Regions from separate parts of the Homo sapiens genome. Here region 1 is linked to region 2. The links are contacts of gene promoters, found by promoter capture Hi-C in blood cells and fetal thymus (Javierre and others, 2016). All regions are on one chromosome and are shown on one strand. Each heading gives the region's core, a stretch centred on a gene start or on the middle of the fragment in contact. The rest is flanking DNA. Distances are from core to core; before and after follow the strand shown.

Evidence for each region. The method cuts DNA at HindIII sites, captures the fragments that hold promoters and counts their contacts. A CHiCAGO score of 5 or more calls a contact.
Region 1: a contact is called between a fragment that was not itself captured here and the fragment with the promoter of PITX3 in region 2, in 1 of 17 cell types (megakaryocytes). The highest score is 5.3, in megakaryocytes.

The regions. Positions count from the first base shown.
Region 1 is chr10:102,167,025-102,170,602 of GRCh38, forward strand. No RefSeq gene overlaps it. Among named protein-coding and RNA genes, the nearest start is that of NOLC1, 16 kb to the left of the region's middle. The HindIII fragment of the contact is 1,609 bases long and covers 1,017-2,625 here.
Region 2 is chr10:102,239,806-102,243,329 of GRCh38, forward strand. PITX3 (paired like homeodomain 3) reads right to left here and starts at 1,707. Exons shown (of 4, transcript NM_005029.4): 1 at 1,528-1,707. It also overlaps a transcript of GBF1 not described here. RefSeq lists a silencer at 1,569-1,858. The HindIII fragment of the contact is 9,988 bases long and covers 1-3,524 here.

The sequences.
Region 1 (3,578 bases), core at 571-3,070, 73 kb before region 2:
CTTGGCCTCCCACAAGTGTTGGGATTACAGACGGGAGCCACCGCGCCCAGCCCGTTTTCATTTTTAAGTTGAATATGACATACATCCATTAATTTATTCTCCTTAAAACATAAATAATTTGTGAGGTTGCTGTTTATTGTTTAAATCATGACTTTTCTTCTGTATTGTATAACCCTTCTCAGTCTTGTTTGCTTTTTTCCGACAGAACTCATTTCCTCTTAGGCCTTGCAAAGCTGAGTCTGCTACGTTTTGCAGCTAGTGTGTTACACAAATGAGGCGGTTTAGCAAATTGCCTAACAGTATTCATTAGGAAGGTTAACCTGAGTCTGCGTTTGTTTGTTTGTTTGTTTGTTTTTGAGACAGGGTCTTGCTCTGTTGCACAGGCTGGAGTGCAGTGGTGCGATTACGATCACCGCTCACTGCAGCCTCAGCCTCTGGGGCTCAAGCAGATACTCTGATCTCAGCCCCCTGAGTAGCTGAGATCCTCCCACCTCAGCCTCCTGAGTAGCTGGGACTACAGTAGTCACTAGGCTTGGCTAGTTGTTTTTTTGTTTGTTTTGTTTTTGTTTTTGTTTTTAATTTTGTTTTGTAGAGACAGGGTCTCCCTGTGTTGCCCAGGCTACTCTCAAACAATCCTCCCACCTCAGCCTCCCAAAGTGCTGGGATTACAGGCGTGAGCCACTGTGCCCAGCCCAGAGTGTACCTTCTGATGTAAAATGAGAATACTGGCTGGGCCTGTAATCCCAGCACTTTGGGAGTCCAAGGCGGGTGGATCACGAGGTCAGGAGATCGAGACTATCCTGGCTACTTGCAGTGAGCTGAGATCGCACCACTGCACTCCAGGCTGGGTGACAGAGCAAGGCTCTGTCTCAAAAAAAGAGAGAATACTATCTCAACTCATTTGTAGATTCTTGACTCTCTCAGAGGCTTGTTGTAAGGACTGAGAATTTAAAGCACTTAGTACAGTCCCTGGCATATTATAAGCACTCCATAACTGCCTCTTGCTCAACAAAAAAAGCTTTGGAAATGATGTTCTTTGGTTTCCTTGTGATGTGCAACATGCCATTTTGGCAAAGGCATCAAGCATATGTTAATGATTATTTCCCTGCAATGGTTTTTTGTTGTTTCACGTTTATCATCTTTATTCCTGATACAAAAATGGATATGTGGAATTGGTCCTATTAGAAACTTCTTAGTTTTGTGAAGAATCTGGAATTCCTACCCCTTGCTGATGGGCTCTGGCACTGAAATCCGCAAATTCAGTCAACCAGACACATGGCTCATGCCCCTCTGCATCATGCTTCATGGACACAGGCAGGAGACTTCCTAATGCCCTGTTGGGGGCTTGCCCTTCGCCCGGTGTAGCCTTACTGCAACCCTGTTAGGTGGGTATCGAGTAGATCATTCCATTTGGGGCCAGGTAAGTCTTTGCTTTTGAGGACTGTCCTGTGTGTTGTAGGATGTGTGGCAGCGTCCCTGGCCTCTAACACTGCATGCCAATAGTTTCCCCTAGTTGTGACAACCAAAAACGGCTCCAGGCATTGCCAAATATTTTCTGGGAAGGAAAATTGCCCCTAGTTGAAAACCACTACGGAAACAGCCCTGAGTATCAAATGATTTACTTAGGGTTGATGAAACTGCAACTTAGTGGCACATTGAGACAAGAACACAGGTCTCTGTATGTCCAAACATGGAGCTACCTGTATTCAATAGTCTTTGTGAACCTGCTATGTACTCGTCATAGAACTCCCAGAGAGCTCAGTGTCTAATGGGGAAAGTCAGGCATGGGAATGGTTTCTGTGCACTGAGCTGAGTTCTGTCCCAAACTGAAGGTCAGAGTAGCACCCCTAAGGGTACAAGCAAGAAAATACTTGGCTTGGCCCGGTGTGGTGGCTCACACCTGTAATCCCAGCACTTTGGGAGGCCGAGGCAGGCAGATCACGAGGTCAGGAGTTCGAGACCAGCCTGGTCAACATAGTGAAACCTCGTCTCTACTAAAAATACAAAAAATTAGCCAGGTGTGGTGGCAGGCGCCTGTAATCCCAGCTACTCAGGAAACTGAGACAGGAGAATCGCTTGAAACCGGAAGGCGGAGGTTGCAGTGAGCCAAGATCGTGCCACTGCACTCCAGCCTGGGCAACAAAGTGAAACTCTGTCTCAAAAAAAAAAAAAAAAAAAAAGAAGAAGAAGAAGAAGAAAAGACTTGGCTGATGGTGGCCTAGGATTCTGAAGACAGCTGCAGTTTGCCAGGAGCGAGAAAAGTGCATACCGTGTAAGGAAGAGTGCCTTTTCCAGTGGGAGAAGAGGGCTGTTAGAATGGGTCAAGCAGAGGTGTGCGGGAGGTGGGGGCAAGATACTGCGAAATTTCACTGAGAGTTCAATGTCAATGGCCTTTTGTACCTAAGTTAGGAATTAGTACTTTATTTTGTCCACCTGAGTATGTTAGGAGATTTGATAGTCTAATACAATACTCCTGGCACTAATCCGGTTGCGGTGAAAGCACTATTTCTGCCGGACCACGAAGTTCTCAAATCCCTCCTGCAGAGCCTGTCTGCAGTTACCGATGGGGCCAGTAGGTGGCGATGTTGCCCCCCTGTTTAGGGAGCTGGGCTGGACTTAAATAGAAGCTTAACTCCTTACTTACTCCAGTGCTATTCAACAAACTTGAAGAGCCGGGCGCAGTGGCTCACGCCTGTAATCCCAGCACTTTGGGAGGCGGAGGCGGGCGGATCACGAGGTCAGCCGATCGAGACCAACCTGGTTAACACAGTGAAACCCCGTCTCTACTAAAAATACAAAAAATTAGCGGGGCGCCGTGGCGGGCGCCTATATAGTCCCAGCTACTCGGGAGGCTGAGGCAGGAGAATGGCGTGAGCCCGGGAGGCGGAGCTTGCAGTGAGCCGAGATAGCGCCACTGCACTCCAGCCTGGGCGACAGAGCGAGACTCCGTCTCAAAAAAAAAAAAAAACACCTTGAAGAGCCCACTGTGAGCCTTTGGATACACAGATGAATAAGACACAGGCCCTCATCTGAGGCTCTTTAGTTTTGGAAATTAGAGAAGGGGTTTTTTGTTTGTTTGTTTGTTTGTTTGTTTTGAGACAGAGTCTCGCTCTGTCGCCCAGGCTGGAGTGCTGTGGTGCCATCTCGGCTCACTGCAAGCTCTGCCTCCTGGGTTCACGCCATTCTCCTGCCTCAGCCTCCCGAGTAGCTGGGACTACAGGCGCCCGCTACGGCGCCCAGCTAATTTTTTTGTATTTTTTAGTAGAGACGGGGTTTCACCGTGCTCTCCATCTCCTGACCTCATGATCTGCCCGCCTCGGTCTCCCAAAGTGCTGGGATTACAGGCGTGAGGCACCGCGCCCGGCCGAGAAGGGAGGTTTTCTGGTCTCTGGTCTGTACTGGTTATCCATGAGAGGTTACCTGATACCTGAAAGCCAGTGGCAGGCAACATGGCTTGTAGAAGATTAATGTTCCCCGTGGAACCCCAACCCTACCTCCAGGTCCTGGCAGGGCCTTCGGGCTCCTGCAAGGGTGACCGGCTGCAGATCCCACTGCTGATGGAAATTGCGGGCCTGTGT
Region 2 (3,524 bases), core at 457-2,956:
TCAGGGTGGATGGTCACTGTATGGGCCCAGCAGAGTCAGGGCTGTATCCCAGCTGCAGGGAAAGTAAACCCGGCTGTTAGGTAGGGCCAAGATATCCTTCCCAACCAGACTGAGAGGGCCAGATAGCCCCCTGTTGGACTCCAGAGTCTGGATTCCATGAGCCTCCTTCCCACCTCCGCTCAGCCACCAGGGTGGTGTTGGGACTGGTAGGGCTGAGGAAGAAAAAGGGAAACAGGACCACAGGATTTGCTTTGCTAATGGGGCTGTAGTTTTCTCTTCTGGCCTGGGCTCCTGCCCACTGTAGGGAAGGAGCCATTGGTCGCCTGATACTCCAGCAAGGAGTCTGGGGGGTGTCTGGTTAATTGTATTGGAATTAGGGGGCAACTGAGGCTGCCAGGGGCTTGTACCCAGCTCCTTCCTGTTTTCCCATTGCCTTTTGTCACCTATTCCTTCCTTTCCTGGTCTTGATTCCCACTAGCAGGCTCCTCATTGGCCTTCTGTCCTCAAATTTGGATTCTGGAAGTACAGAGTGATGCTCTGATCTATTCTGAATTGAAGGGGGCATGTGTCCCAGCCCACCTCACCCCAAGGCCAGGTTGTAGCCTTTACTCTCGCTCCCTGCTCACAGCTTCGCAGCCCGAAGGAGCTGAAACAAGTTTGCAAAGTGTGAGCTGGGATTTGAGGTGACCCACCGCAGCCGACCCCATCGCACACGCAGCAGCTGGGCAGGCGCTGCTGGGTAGACGGACATGCCACCCAGCCAGGGACATTCTGTCCGCCACTGCCAGACACAACTCCCGCTCCGGAGAGACCCACTTCGCTACCCGGACATTCTGTCCGCTCCGAGCCCCATGCACCGCGGACATTCTGTCCGATTCTGAGGCGGCCTCAAGTCAGGACCCTTCTGGGCCCAGACACCCCAAGCCAGATCCACTATACCCGCCGCCTGGTCACTCTGATCCGCACAGCGGCCATCTGACTCAGTCGCGGCCGGGCTCTCACAACACAGCTCCTATTCCAACTGCGGAGCAGCTGGGAAGAGAAGCGTGTGCGACCAGGCGCACCCCGGCTCCCAGCCCCAGGAGTCTGAGCCTAGGCCGAGGGGCATCGGGCGCCGTCAACTGCCCCCACACTGGGGGCCGCCCCGCCAGCTCCCCCGCTGGCCAGGGCCTCTGTAACCCCTTTCGCTCCCTGGCCGCCTGCCCCGTGCCCTGGGATTCCAGGGCGCTTTCTGGTAATGGTTTCCAGACTCCCTACTCCCTGCCTCGCGAAGCCCCTATCCTGGTTTCAAGTCTCCGGCTTCGTTCCGGATCCTCTGAGTCTCCCCCTTCCCTATCCCCTGGTTCTTACCCTGAGTTTCCCTTTTCCCAAGTCCTGGCCCCAGGTCTGCAGTCCGCCCTCCCATTCTCGACCTGTTCCCAAGGCACCGGAGTTCAGCTGCCCCAGGTCTCGTTTTAGGGATTCCAAGGTCCAGCAATAGCTCCTCGGCCCCATGAGCCCCTGTCCTTAGAATGGTCAAACACTCACAGTGCGTCCTGCAACAGGCAGACTCCCAGTAGCGGCGGCTGCGGCGGCGATCTAGAGGGCAGGCAGGGGCCAGGGGCCGGGCACCCGGCCGGAGTGGGGGCCGCCCCCCTGCTCCCGGGCCGCCTCTCCGCTCGGGCGCTCCTGGACTCTCGGAGGGAGTGAGCCTCACCGCGTACTGCCACCCCCAGCCGGCGCCCATTCACTTTATGGCAGACCAGGGCGCCCCCAGCCCGCCGCGGCGAGCCGCGCGCGTCAGGCCCCGCCCCTTTCCAGCTGCCCTGCTGGGGCTCCGCCCTTTCCAGCTGTGGATCTCCAGGCCCCGCCTTTGAGGGAGGGGTCTGGCCGGCGAGACGCCAAGAACCCCGCCCTCTGGCCAATCAGAAGCGCTCTTCAGCAACTCGGCCGCGCCCCTCCCCACGTGGCAGAGACCGCGCTCCGGCTAGGACGCTTAGGCAGAGCCAAGTGGGCGAGAGTAGAGTGGTCCCGGTAGCCACGGGTAAAAGGGATCGGCTGGCAGCGAAGTGGGTTGGGCCGCTACCCCGAGGAAAGTGGATCGGCGCCAGGTGGGAAGGCGCACGGGGCCGCCGGGTCTCAGCGCTCAGACTTCTCTGCCACTCAAGTTTCGCCGATTTTCTCCACTTGTCGCTGTCCGTCTCTCCTCCCTTTTGTCTCTGTTCCAATCCTCCCACGTCTCGCCTTTCTTTCCTCTTCTTTCTCCTCAGCCGCTTCGCTCCTGCTGTTTACCATTCTCCTTCCTCTGCCACTTTAAAAGACTCATTTCTCTTTCTCTCTGCTCCTCTTTCCTCATATCTTTCCTCTTCTTCATTTCCCCCTTCTTCTCCAAGGAAGGTGACTTCGTGGAGACAGCAGGGTTTGGAATGATACAAACCAAAGTAGTATTCCAACGCTGCCACGAACTGCACCATCACTGAGTGAACTTGGACGAGTAACTATCATCTCCCTCCCCGCGCAAAACAATTAAGAGGAGGTTCCTGCTGGATCTCAGGGCTTGGGCTGGGCACTCCAAAGGCATTGCCTTTCAGTCTGTACCCTTGTCTTGCTTAGGCTGTGCTCTCCCTCCTTCAGCAGGGCTGGTTTCCCGCTGGTGGTACCAGGTTAAGTCCTGTGGGCAAGGTGTGGCCTTGGTGCCTGCTGGTTAGGAATTTGCAAGGGACAGGACAGATGACCAAGGAACATCCTGGCAGACTGTGACTTCGGCCCTCTCTGACTTAGGCCTCAATTTCCAGGAAACAGGCTCCTTCTCTTCTCCCAGTTAGGCTATGTTGCTTGGGTGCTCCGAAGAGCCTAAGCCCAGGCCAAACACTGTGGCTCATGCCTGTAATCCCAGCACTTTGGGAGGCCGAGGCGGGCGGATCACAAGGTCAGGAGATTGAGACCACCCTGGCTAACACGGTGAAACCCCATCTCTACTAAAAAATACAAAAAATTAGCCGGGCTTGGTGGCGGGTGCCTGTAGTCTCAGCTACTGGGGAGGCTGAGGAAGAAGAATGGCGTGAACCCAGGAGGCAGAGCTTGCAGTGAGCTGAGATCGCGCCACTGCACTCCAGACTGGGCGACAGAGCAAGACTCTGTCTCAAAAAAAAAAAAAAAAAAGAGCCTAAGCCCAGTCACACAATATGCCCCTAAGGCAAATCTGAGCAGTCATGTCTTGACTGTTCAGTGACTCCCATTGCCCTTAGGATAAAGGTCAAGCTCCCTAGCCTGGCATACAAGACCTTCAGGACCTGACCTTGTCTTCATCTCCAATTTCCTAGTAGTGTCCTGCACACCTCTGGCCCTTCCTGTGAAAGTAACCCATCTTTATATTGTCAATTCCTACTCCTCCAATGTTCCACTCAAGTCTTATTTTCTCTGGGAAGCCTTTTCTGAACTCTCAGTTTAGCCCCTTGCTCTCATGACCCTCAGTGTATACCTTCTATTACACCACCCACCATATTGAAGGGATCAGCTTATGTGTTGTCTGCTATGATAATAAA